Linked DNA regions of Homo sapiens: all the other regions are linked to region 1. The links are contacts of gene promoters, found by promoter capture Hi-C in human tissues and cell types (Jung and others, 2019). All regions are on one chromosome and are shown on one strand. Each heading gives the region's core, a stretch centred on a gene start or on the middle of the fragment in contact. The rest is flanking DNA. Distances are from core to core; before and after follow the strand shown. Region 1 holds the start of GRIK2 (glutamate ionotropic receptor kainate type subunit 2). Region 2 overlaps GRIK2 (glutamate ionotropic receptor kainate type subunit 2). Region 3 overlaps GRIK2 (glutamate ionotropic receptor kainate type subunit 2). Region 4 overlaps GRIK2 (glutamate ionotropic receptor kainate type subunit 2).

Region 1 (3,164 bases), core at 394-2,893:
TGACTTGTCACGGAAGTCCTGCTGTTATGTGACATTTGAAAAACCTCATCTTATAGTAACACCTAACCTATTATTCCATGCAAGTGGCCTGTTGCATAGCAATTTAGCTAAAACAAACAGCCTGTTTATACATGGCATTAAAGATCTCAGAGAATAAAGTCAGGACTGAGTCAGGTTTCAGTTGAAATCACACTGTTGCATACTTGCAACTCACTCTTCTTAACTATGCATGCTGTGGTATCCCTTATGATTCTGAACACATTATCAGCTGTTCCAGCAACATTCTGCTGCATTGATGATTAATGACATTTAGAGTTTTGATTAATTTTTAGACACTAAAATAAGTGTATCTTAATTAACAAATTGAAGTGGAATAAATTTACATATCCCAGAACTTTTTTTTTTAAATTTCAGCCTGTGTGATTTTCAATGGGTTTAAATAGGAGAAAACAAACAGATAAGACTTCCAAACATTGCTCAATTCTCTATCACCTTGCTCTTGTGCATTTCAATTTTTTGTTGTTTGTTTGACTCAAAAGTTTTTAAGGCCACTGGAAGTTGATAGGCTGCCTTGGTGGTTACAGGAATAGACTCTATAAAGTTAGAAAGTAATGAACTAAGACAAATCAAGATTGAAATACAATTGCATTTATTTCAGTAACTAAACTGACTAATTAAGACTCAAATGAACCAATCATCTCTCGTGAAATGAAAATAATCATCAATCCATAAGATAATTTCTGATGACAGAATACTTACAGTATGGAGATGAATAAACGATAGAAGATAATCTGTGCATTACCAAAAGGCTACTAATAGTAAGTTTTCTAATATTCCCCATTGCCTAAATTGGAAATTATTCTCTAAGGAGCCTCAGCTCGGTCGTGTTGTTTGGTAAAGAAACTCTATCTCCTTAAAGGTAAAAATATCAGAGGATGTGGTTCGTTAAAAGTTCTTGAGGTTTATGATCCACCCTGGTAACACTGCCCACTCCTTACCCTAATGGGACGCCCTCCAAGTTTTTTCAGAAGCTCTTAATACGGGTGCCGGTTAAAATAAATATACTTCCTCAGCGCAGAACTAAGGAGTAGGGTTAATGGAAGGATGGGTGGGCAGAAGGAGGGATGGGGAGTTCGTCAGACCCGCCGGCAGCCACACAGCTTCTTGCCATCTGTCTCATTCTCTTCGCCTCGCGTGAGTCCCCGTAGCTGAGGCCACTTCCTGACACGTCCACTTCTTAAATCATTTTATGTGGAGAACATAGGCGACTGCAGCCAACAGAGCCACTTGCATGCTTGACGGGAATTGGCTGAGATAAGCCCGACAAAGACTCGCAGTGAATCCGTCCAGCGGGCGCCCCGAGCGCACGGACGTCCGCAGCGCTACTGTTCGCCTTCTTCCTTCTCTCCAGGTGGAAAATGCCCCTCGCCCACCCGCAGTCCCTCCCGTCCTCTTGAAAACAAACACCTCGTGAAGGAGCCCGGAGTGCAGCCCACAGCCGGGGAGTCCTTACCTGGAGCTAGGGGTGAGGTGGGCGGGGAGGGGGTGGGGTGGTCCTCGGGGAGGAGCAGCCGGAGGAGGTCGGGCGGAAAAGTCCCCAGCTACCAGACCGACCAGCGCAGCCGCCGGCGCCGAGCGCGAGTGACGGCAGCGGCGAAGACGGTGACCGAGGAGCAGCAGCGGCGGCGGCGGCGGCAGAGACAGACACGCCTCCTGGCGGGGGTTCCTCGCCTCTTGCTTTAAAGGCGCCGCGCTCCTTTCCCCGTGGCCCCTGCACGCTCCTGGCCGCCGCGGCCACTCGGGGGCATCTCCCACCCCTGGACCACAGGAGCTAGAGCGAGAGAATTCCTGGTGTCCCTAGACTTGGATGTTACGAAGCCTCCGGCTGGACTTCGCTCCCTTAGCGCACACCCGCCTCCTGGGATGGGGAGACTAAGGCCAAGATGCTCTGTCAGGGAGTGAGTGATGCATGCAAAGCGCCGAGGAATTTGCCTAGCCTTGGGTGGTGACAACACATATAAGGAGCCCAAACACATTTGCTTCTGGGTGATGGCTTTTATGCCTCTCCGAAACCATAGCAACGAAACTTCTCCACTGCCAGGGCTTGGAGGGCTGCTGGTAGTCTCCAAAGTGGACCTCTTAGTCCAACTACGGTCATTTCCCTGAGGTTCGCAAAAAAAGATCTTGATCTGCGCACCCTCCCACCCCGACCTCCAGCGCATAGAGCAAATGCGCTCTGGTAGCGCTGCTGCGGGTATTCCCTCAGATGCTGGGAGTCACAGTGCCCTGCTCCCTGCCACCATTATTGAGAACAGATGCTTGGAAATTGACTTTTCCTGAGTGTTAGGAGGTCGGGCGGGCTGTCTCTGTGTATGTATGGCGCCTTAAATAGCAGACTCCCCTCTCCCCACCAAACTCCCGCCCAGGCCCCGGAACTCTCAACCTAAACACATTTCAGAAAGAAGTTGGATTCGAGATCTAGTGGGCGCCGAACCTGAGGTCGCAGACTCCAAGATTGGAGACAGGAGTCTGGGAAGCAGCCCTGGTTTGGCGGCCACTGGTCCAAGTTCTCGGGAGGACTCTTTTAAAGGCCAGAGATGGGGAGGGGCAACTGAGTCCCAGAGTCTTCCCGCAGCTTGGCTTCCAGGGAGGGGCTGGCGGCGGTGAGCGCACCAGGCTCTCCCTGCTTCACTGTGGAAACGATTAGCTTTTGCAAACAATCCCTGAGTTCCGCTCCTCTGGGTCGGAAAAGTCAACATCTATTCAAAACCGTTGCTATTTTATCCTCAGCCCTACAATATTAACTGGAGCTGAGTTTAGCAGTTTCCCCCAGAGGAAGTTGGCCAGCTCAGATTCGCGAGGAGATTTAAGTGAGGCTAAGCGGGAACAGGCCAGGCGCACTGGGCTCAAGAGACCATTTCAAACGGGCTGCATAAAGAAGGGGCCAGGGGGGATTCCACGGCTCTGCAGTCCCCTAGCAGTTCCAGTCCCTGGTGGTTCTCCACTATCTATCTAATTCCGAGGTCCGGGAATTAGAGAGGCTCTGAGTCCCCAGGGACCCGTTGTCTGAGCTGGAGACCAGAACTTGCCCTTTTGCTTCCTCCTTCACTGCAGCCCTAGTAAAGTTAAGCCCTCGCCGGACCCTGGCGCAGCAGGGCCATGTT
Region 2 (3,164 bases), core at 446-2,945, 420 kb before region 1:
TCAAAATATAGGTAAAACAATTCCTCCTCTGTGCAGTAATGGATGATCGTTTATTACGCTTCCATACACAGCAATTTAGTTATGCTTTTACTTACTACAATAAGTATCATATTATATTTTAACTGTTTACTTATCTCTGTCTAGTAAAAACTAATTCCCTACGGATGGAGACTTTGGCATACTCATCTTTTTACCCCAAGGCCTTTGAATATAGGACATCCTACGGGCTTTATATGTGAGATCTCTGAACATACTGGTTATATAACCAATAAACGTTTTATTTATTGAACATAAATAATAATATTTATTGAACAGAAATAAATGTTTTATTTTCCTCATCTCAGAAATGCCACTTATGTATTGCTTTGAATCCAAATTATATTTCATTTTTATTGATCCTGCTGTGTTAAACTCTAAGTGCCTTCACAAAACGAAACATTTCATCAATCTTTAAATTATATAATAAATATCCAATGAATATTTATTGAATAAATAAATAGAGTAAGTGAGTGAATTACTCCATGATAAAAACTTTCAGACTTTTTTGGTTGACTTTCCAATATCATTCATTCATTTGGCAAATGTTGAACATACATATGTGTCTATTCTTTTATAATTACATATTTTGTTTTCCATATTTTATCTTCATGTTTTTTGTGTTATTCTTAATGTTTTAAGATCTATCTCAATATCATATTTAATGTTTGAAATATTATGCCACATACCTTTACTATGAATTTCCATTTTTTCCTAATTATATTTTATAAGTATTTTAAATAAATATTTTACACTATAGGTTTTGTTTTTCAGGAATGTGTAAATTATTCATATAATTTTGTTTTATAAGTATATTTTCTCTTTGGTTTCTGTGTATTTTTTTCTAGGTAGAAAACAACAGTTTTCAGAATAATTTTTAAATTATTTATCTTATTAATTAGTTGCTTCTTTATTGTTTATTTGTTTATTTTTGGTGACAGTTTTCTCAGTACAAATTTTGTTTTGTAACTCATATTACTACTTTAAATCCAAAAAATGTTTCTATTTCCTCTATTGGGCTATATAATTGTTAACCTCTGAAAGTAGCATCTTTTCTTCTAAAGATGCATGTTAGCTCTGTTTTGTGTACACCGGATCAATGTCACACATTTCTTATTTTCTATGAAATTTATGGAAATAATTTGCTTGATATGTATACAAGAAATTTTTCAAGTAGGAACAAAATAAACATTCCCAGTTAGTTTTAAAAATATTAGTTCCAAATAAAGTTAAATTTATTTTAAATTAAGAAATAATTTAAATTCTCCACTAAAAAATACCTGATACAAATCTATCAAAATTCTCTTTATACTTTCTTACTGGCATTGACTCACAAAATATTCACTGGATGTTGGTAGATGGAAAAAGAAGCAATATAGTTTTCCATTAGACAACAATGTAAAAATGTAAAAAAGAAAGTTATTTGATTGTACATTGTTTTGACTTAATGTCAGGAGAATGTGTCAGCCTTGAATAAAGAATATAAGCCATAGTTTTCCACAGAGATCCTGTGTGATGATAATGAGAAACCACACTGTACATGGGTTTCCAACAGTCTTAGCACAATGCAGACTCTCCATCTTAGAATATGTTTGCTTAAAGAAATTTCTTTCCAGTAATGAGTTGCCCCCAACCATATGACCTACAAAGTATAGTTTTCCTTGAAGTATATTGACTACTTCCCTTGGAAAAAAGTTGGCACCCCGATAGTACTGTTTGAGGGAATTGAGAAATAGAAAGCATAAGAAAGAGATTTATATTAAATGCTGATTTACGTATGAAAGATGTTTCCTGCAATTGACTGAATATACACTAGTGGACTGTTTATTTCTCTATTAACTCATATACCTATTATTTCTGAAAACCTGGGTTTCTCAAGCCAATACAATGCATGAATATTGGGTACAGAAATTTTTTTCAACAGATTAGTTTTCTCACTATTAGTGGGAAATTAGAGACTTTTGTTTTCCTTACTTCACTCCTTCAAATGATGAATAGTTAAATGAAAAGTAGAGATAGTTAGTTGCATTACCGTCTAATAACCCTTGACACCGAAGTTTAATAACTGTTTACTTCCATTGAACTAAGTGTTGAAAAGAGAGCACTTAAGCATTGGCACCTGAGCTCTAGAAAACAAAAAGAAATATTTTACAGCAAAGCCTATGTGCTTCCTGCCAGCTAGAATTTGAGTCCAGAGCAATTGTCTGGAAATTGGCTGACCTTCAGATATAAGTTAATTGGCCTATAAGGATAGGGCAAAGAACGCTTTCGTAATCAGCGTCCTGAAACTCTCAACTAGTGTGCATAGGATCTCGGATTTTACCATTCGAGAACTATAGTGCTAATATGAGTACAATAAATCAGTAAGTATATAATCATCTCATGGAAAGGAATTAATAATCTAACTAAACACTGATTTTTCTCATTTAAGATTTTTATTTTAGTTTAGGGCAATTTAATGCTAAGCACAATTAAAGAGTTAACAGACAGGTTGTGATTTTGATTTTTTAAATAATGTTTGAATTAATGAATTACATGTTCCCAAATATGAAAATACGATACCATTCAGTTAAAAGCCATTTTTCCACAGATAAAAATGTAGGTCAGATTTGATTTGATTTGAAATCAAATCAATCAATTACAATTATGTTATATATATCATAATTGTAATTTATACATATATATATGTTAATTCAAATTTAGTGGTTAAAAGAAAAAAGCCAATATTTAATATTCATTGGTGGGCCAAAATAAGACTTTTTGGGAACCAAAACAATAAATTCTGTGACCTCAAATAAGGCAATCTGATTGATTTCTAAACATAAACATCATTCATAAATAGTTTTCTGAAATATTTTATCGTCCTGAAAGTGTAAAGTTGCCAAACAAAATAATAACTATACACACTGACACACAAAAATGTCGGTACAGTTCTGAGACAGGGTTTATAATGAATTCTATATAAGAGTTAGACAAATTAAATGGCTAACATCTCCAAAGAAAGGCAATAGGCTTGGATCCTGCCCAGGAAGTATTTTTGTTTTTAGAGAAGCAAACATCACTTTTTGACTAATTTAAAGTTTACGAGTTAACATCACCATTAAAATTGCTTTCGTAGAGGAAGGCAA
Region 3 (3,164 bases), core at 412-2,911, 380 kb before region 1:
GCTAGCTGAACTGAGGGACTGATGAAGAAATGCCCTCAGACCCAGTCGGGAGCCAATTGTCAGAGACAATTCTCCCAGTTACACTGCAGCTGCCATTATGCTTTCTCTGTTGCTGGCTCTTTGTATTACTCTGAAACAGAGTTCTTTACCAGCAGCTGCGTGGACTACACAGACTGCATGAGATAATACATTAAAGCAGTTCGCACAATTCCTGGCACATGGTGCATAGGCAGGTGTTGGACGATGATGGCGATGATCACCAGAAGAGCGGTAATCTCTTCAGATGGATACTCTCCAGAACAAGGAACCAGTTTAGAAAGTATAATGCTTCAACCCTTCTGCACCCACTGTTAGCCTAAATGGGAGAACAGGCCTCATGCTGTTTAAAACAGCAGATCAGGTTCTAGATGGCAAAGGAGCATGGAGGAAATTAACATATAATAACCTGATCCCTACACAATGTGTTATGTACATGACGCTACAATTCAGTTGAACTCAGAATGCCAAAAAATAAAAAATTGAGTACATATAAGTTACTGACAAATTTAGAATTCAAGAATAAAGATGAGTGGTAAAATATTATAATGTCTTGTATTTAATATTAAATGAAGGACTGCTATTGCACAGATAATTTCACTACAGCATGTAAACTTGGACAAGTATGACTATTATTTTTTCTAGTCTTCAGTTTCTTCATCTATAAAAGGAGGGGATTGAATCAGGTGGATTTTAAGGCATCCTGTGGCTAACATTCATATTACTAGAAAATCCACATTTTACTCTGATTTTATACCGGTTTTGTAATATAACCATAACCCTTATTTGTCTGTCTTCTCTGCATAATTATTTACTCTTTACATTCTACATATGTCTGTCTCTCTCCATAATTCTTTATAATGTTGTGTGCTTGCTTAACAAACTATTGTATGAACATTTCATACAAATTAATAAGGGTAATCAAAAGTAATTATTCTTAGGCCATTGACTGTGTTCATATCCTAGCAAATTACTGCCTGAACAAATAAAACCTGCCAATATTTATATTATGGTCTTTTCTTTGTTGTTTCACCTTCATTGCTGTTAAACTTCTCATGTACATTAAATCTCAGCCTGGCCTCCTCATTCTTCGAAGAAGAAAACTAAAATTCTTTCTTTCCTACCCAAAGTCATTCTCCAATATTACAGCATTTTACCTCCTTTTGCCTCCTCTTACACAGTGAAAACACAAATCTGCTTATGACTTATGTTTTTGAACTACCAGAGAGATTTTATTACAAATTAAATGCATTAAAGAAAATTTCAGAAACTGCATGATGAAATACCTTTAAAAATATATGAATTTTTAGTGAGCCAAGATAGTGCCACTGCACTCCAGCCTGGGTGGCAAAGTAAGACCACATCTCTCTCTCTCTCTCTCCATATATATATATCTATATTCCATATATATACACATATATAATTTCCATATACACACATATATATATTGTTTCCATATATATATGAAGAAATCTGTATCTTCACACTTTGCCATACAGCTAGAATGTATTACCTCCTAGAAATACAATGAGCCAAATCTGTCAGCAGCTCAGACCGGGGCGGGGAATGTGAGTACAGCCTCTGTCTTGTTTCTAAATGAATTTATAGTTTATTATAAATAAACTATACAGTAATGTGTGTGTGTGTATATATATATCTCACACACATATATATACATATATATACACACATATATATATAAAGATTTTTGTCTCTACATGTGTGTCATTGAGTACCCATGAGGGCTGAAAGGAAGAGACAAATTGATGAATTAGGAAGAATATTCAAATTCAGCAATGTTCTGAAGATCAAGTAAAGTAGGCAGCACTGAGTGATAGTGGTTGCTGAGATTCAGATAAGAAACTGTCTTGGCCAGAATTAATGTCATGAATAATTAACAAATCCATTTGTTTAGTGTTCCTGTGAATTTGAATAAATGTCTATGTCTCTCCAAACCAGTGCTCTCTGGCTTAAGCTGAAAGCTACCAAAAAATAGTGATTGCCAATTAGCTTATTTTGAACAACAACCAGTAAATACAGCCTAAAATGTGGCTGACACTAATTTTAACAATAAGAGTTTCCATTGGCCCTTTATGTTTATCTTACACAAATACGGGCTTTCATTCTTTCAAAAACTCTTGTTGGATACCATTTTCTTTAACAAGATAATTTTATAAACAGTATTATTTCCCTGTAAGATTTTAAAGCTTCATAAGGAATGATGTTCAATACATGAAGTTTTAAAGTTATAAATGTTAAAGCTTCAGAAAATGACTACTTTGCCTTTTTCCCAAGAATAGTATATACTTACCATACATATTTTCTCTATAACTTTTCTTTCTGATATATATATCTTTTAAATGTACCATTCCGCAAGCAGAAAATCCTATTTGTTTTTACTGCCACATTATCTAAACTCCTTTAAACGTTTATACAAAAAGTCCAAGATGTTTAGATAATTTTCAAACATCATGTACAGAAACTCTTCACTTTTTAAATATAAATGATTAAAGGACAGCTGTGAAGCAGGTAAGAAAATGCCAACAAGTTTTCAATTAAAAGTTCCATTTAACTAATGTAATTATTCTTACCTAATTAAATTTTTTTTACTAAGATCAGTCCATTGAGATATCTCATTCTGTTTTAAAATGTTACACAAAGCTCTTACTAATGTCCATGAACCACATTGTATTGATGAGATTGTTAATGAACTCTCTAGCAACAATGCACTGGCCTTAATAATTTAGAACCTGTTAAATCTTGTCCGCTTTTTACTACATTTGGAACCGCTATTGATTTAGAGAAGAGTCAATACCAAGGGGAAGTATTCTTTGCACTTCCAGCTGGTCTCCAATACATCCAATTATCTTGATATTTGCAGCTCAGATTAGGTACTTGCATTTAAAAATTTATATTCATCAATGTTGTTTATATTTACCTTTTTCAATATGATGAATTAAAATAGATTTTTACGGTGTTAACAGACTGTGATTTTTTTCTAAATTTGGGACCTAGGTGTATGCAAACCAAAAATACACTAGAAATTTAGGTCCATGAGTTCAAATATTCACGTAAGTATTAATTCCAAATGCCAATAAAAACTGATAACCTAAAAATTAAATTATAGC
Region 4 (3,164 bases), core at 402-2,901, 350 kb before region 1:
TATTTTTATCAATATTTAATTCTTATTTAGTAATTCTGATATAATTTAAGTCATCCAAATAACAATGAATGATGCATCTACCAATATTGTCTATAATGTTGTTATAAAATAGTGCTATTAATCTTTGAATTATTTCAGAAATATATTAATATTGACTCAATAAATTAAGATGTACATATATCTTAATTTTATTACAGATATAAAACATAGAAATTCCAAAACATACAAAAATTCAGATATTAATTACTTAGGATGAAATAACAGTTTATTTTCAGAAAAGAATGAAGGCTATCTAATTGAACAAAGCTAGTCATTCACCAAGGAGAATGAGTAAATTTTATGTAGACTTGACATGGCCAAACAGAAAAGCCATTGCCTTTCTGCAGCATGTATCCAGGACATAATGGAAAAACTGCCAAGCCTTATCACACCTGCTGACAACTATCCATGCCTGCTGATTCATGTGGGTATGAATGATGCCATCATAATACACATGCAAACCATTTTTAGAATTCATGACATCCTAGGCAGAAAGCTAAAGGGTTCCTTTAAAGGGTTCCAAGTGTTAAAATTCTTCCTCCCATTCAATGTGTGATTTAGGAAAGGAAAAATGCTGAGCAGCTGGTTATATAGATGGTGGCAGAATCATGATTTAAGATACCAAACTTGGTGGGGATTTGTGACTTAGAAAGTATTTTCAAAGGGACACGGAAGACTTATTTCTCTGGTGAACTGCTGATCTAATTCAGAAGATTTAAACATAAAATTTATGGGAAAATAAAAATAATATTAAAATGTTAACAAGGGTTATAAAAATATAATAGATATGACACAGATAGAAAAACATTAGGGAATTTCCCAAAGCATTCATAGGAGAACACAACCATATTACAGAAAATACCTTTGTCCTCCCATAACTATATATCAACAAGCGGGGTATTACAATAAAGAATATATGGGTGTGTTTGGGAGTATATATGTGTGTGTGTGTGCATACACATATGCACATATGTATTTACAAAGGGAAACTGAGGGATTCAATATTAGAAAGTGGAAGTGAAAATGTATATCTTAATAGAACAAACAAGTCAATTTGAAGAAGAAAATGGGTAACAAAATCTGTCTTATCCACTGAGACAAAAATTTGAAGGTAGGCCAGGCGCAGTGGCTAACTCCTGTAATCCCAGCACTTTGGGAGGCTGAGGTGAGCTGATTAGTTGAGGTCAGGAGTTCAAGACCAGCCTGGCCAACATGGTGAAACCCTGCCTCTACTAAAAATACAAAAATTAGCCAGGCATGGTGGAACATGCCTGTTATCCCAGCTACTCAGGAGGCTGAGGCAGAAGAATCAATTGAACCCAGGAGGCAGAGGTTGCAGTGAGCCGAGATCATGCCACTGCACTCCAGCCTGGGCAAAAAGTAAGACTCTGTCTCAATAAATAAATAAAATATTTGAAGGTAGCAGGATGTTAACAATAAGACTGGAATCTAAGTTGCACTATTTGTGAGGATGATATACACTACCTGGTTAGATGATTAAAATAGATGACTATTCTGTATTTATACCACCAAATGCTAGAGAGATTAGTTAGACAAATGATAGAAAGGAGACAGAAAAAACAGTACTCAATTCTCCTAGAATTATTATTCAACTAAATAAATTAATTTCTTCACTTGCCTAGCTGGCTGGCAATTTAATGCCTCAGACAACAGAGAAAGCAGTAAAGTTACTTTGGGTCAATAAGGAAAAACTCGTGGTGAAGTTGGAATGATGAGACTCCGCGAAATATAATTTGTTATCTTGACATTCTGAATAATCTTGGGGAAGGGTGGTTAGGAGACGAGAATTGTGGGATATAACCATACATTTAGTTCAAGCTTTAAGTCATATTTCAAAACTTTCAGAAAACAGAAAGACCTAAGATTCTCATATGGTGAAATAGCTCAATCACAAAATATTAAAATGGAGTTATTTAAAAATTGAAGTGTTACAATATTAAATGATCCTGATGAGGAGAGAAACTGGGAAACATCTAAAAATATAGCTGCAGGGAGAGCACCCTGAAGAGCTAAGGTGTTAAAAGAACACTGACAACAGAAAAAGAAAAAATAAACATGGCTAATTTTTTTTCTTAGTTTTAATTTTGTAATGGGCATGAAATTTTGAGACTAGTTGAAAGAAAACTAAATTTTATACTGTGATTTCATATTGCCCATCTATTATTCATACATAAAACGTTTCTCAAAAAATATATATAAAATATTTCTCAATCCATCTCAACGAGAATACCAAAAAGCCTTTATAATATGTATAACTTGGCCAGGTGCTTTTTAAGCAATACATGACTGTATTGGTAATCATCAATAGAATGCCAGGCCCATCATGCTCAGCTGTTTTCTATGAGGGTCTGATCAAAAGTCCAGCCCATGTAACTGATTCTTCATAGAGTACTCAATGTGATGTGAAGGTTATTCATTCTGATATATTCCCTAAAGTGTATAAATCCAAAATTTTGATCTCCAAATCTAGATCAGGTTTATATTTCGCTACCAATAGTTATCCTTTCACTGAATAACAAGTTGATATACCTTCAGCTTTTTATCAAAAATTGAAAAAAACTAAATTACTCCATGAAGAATGTTAAGATCATGTTGTTTATTAATCCTTATGTTAGCATTCATTTAATAAATTTTTTACAACATGAAAAAATATCTTTTCAAATGGACAAATATAATAAATAATTTCCCTTTAGTTATGGGAATTGCCTAAAATACTTTGCTTGCTTTTTGCCTTACCTACAAGGAAGCTTAGAATTAAACAGTGCTCACAATTTGCAGTTGCAAACATATGGAACCAGCCCATATGCCCATCAATCAACAAATGGATTAAGAAACTGTGGGCCAGGTGCAGTGGCTCTTGCCTGTAATCCCAGCACTTTGGGAGGCCAAGGTGGGCGGATTACCTGAGGTCAGGAGTTCGAGACCATCCTGACCAACATAGAGAAACCCCATCTCTACTAAAAATACAAAAAAATTAGCCAGGCATAGTGGTGTGTGCCTGTAATCTCAGCTACTCGGGAGGCTGAGGCAGAAGAATCGCTTGAACCCAGGAGGCAGAGGTTGCAGTGAGCTGAGATCGTGCCATTGCACTCCAGCCTGGGCAA

What was found. Contacts are between HindIII fragments. The study calls those that stand out against the background at their distance.
Region 2: a contact is called between a fragment that was not itself captured here and the fragment with the promoter of GRIK2 in region 1, in 1 of the 25 tissues and cell types used here (H1 embryonic stem cells).
Region 3: a contact is called between a fragment that was not itself captured here and the fragment with the promoter of GRIK2 in region 1, in 1 of the 25 tissues and cell types used here (mesendoderm cells).
Region 4: a fragment that was not itself captured here is called in contact with the fragment with the promoter of GRIK2 in region 1 in 2 of the 25 tissues and cell types used here (H1 embryonic stem cells and IMR-90 fibroblasts).

The regions. Positions count from the first base shown.
Region 1 is chr6:101,392,187-101,395,350 of GRCh38, reverse strand. It overlaps GRIK2 (glutamate ionotropic receptor kainate type subunit 2), which reads right to left and starts at 1,643. Exons shown (of 17, transcript NM_021956.5): 1 at 1,514-1,643. The HindIII fragment of the contact is 9,322 bases long and covers 1-1,987 here.
Region 2 is chr6:101,809,636-101,812,799 of GRCh38, reverse strand. The region is part of intron 9 of GRIK2 (glutamate ionotropic receptor kainate type subunit 2); the gene reads right to left. Among named protein-coding and RNA genes, the nearest start is that of GRIK2, 420 kb to the right of the region's middle. The HindIII fragment of the contact is 5,014 bases long and covers 1-3,164 here.
Region 3 is chr6:101,774,081-101,777,244 of GRCh38, reverse strand. The region is part of intron 7 of GRIK2 (glutamate ionotropic receptor kainate type subunit 2); the gene reads right to left. Among named protein-coding and RNA genes, the nearest start is that of GRIK2, 380 kb to the right of the region's middle. The HindIII fragment of the contact is 5,236 bases long and covers 1-3,164 here.
Region 4 is chr6:101,744,616-101,747,779 of GRCh38, reverse strand. The region is part of intron 7 of GRIK2 (glutamate ionotropic receptor kainate type subunit 2); the gene reads right to left. Among named protein-coding and RNA genes, the nearest start is that of GRIK2, 350 kb to the right of the region's middle. The HindIII fragment of the contact is 6,459 bases long and covers 1-3,164 here.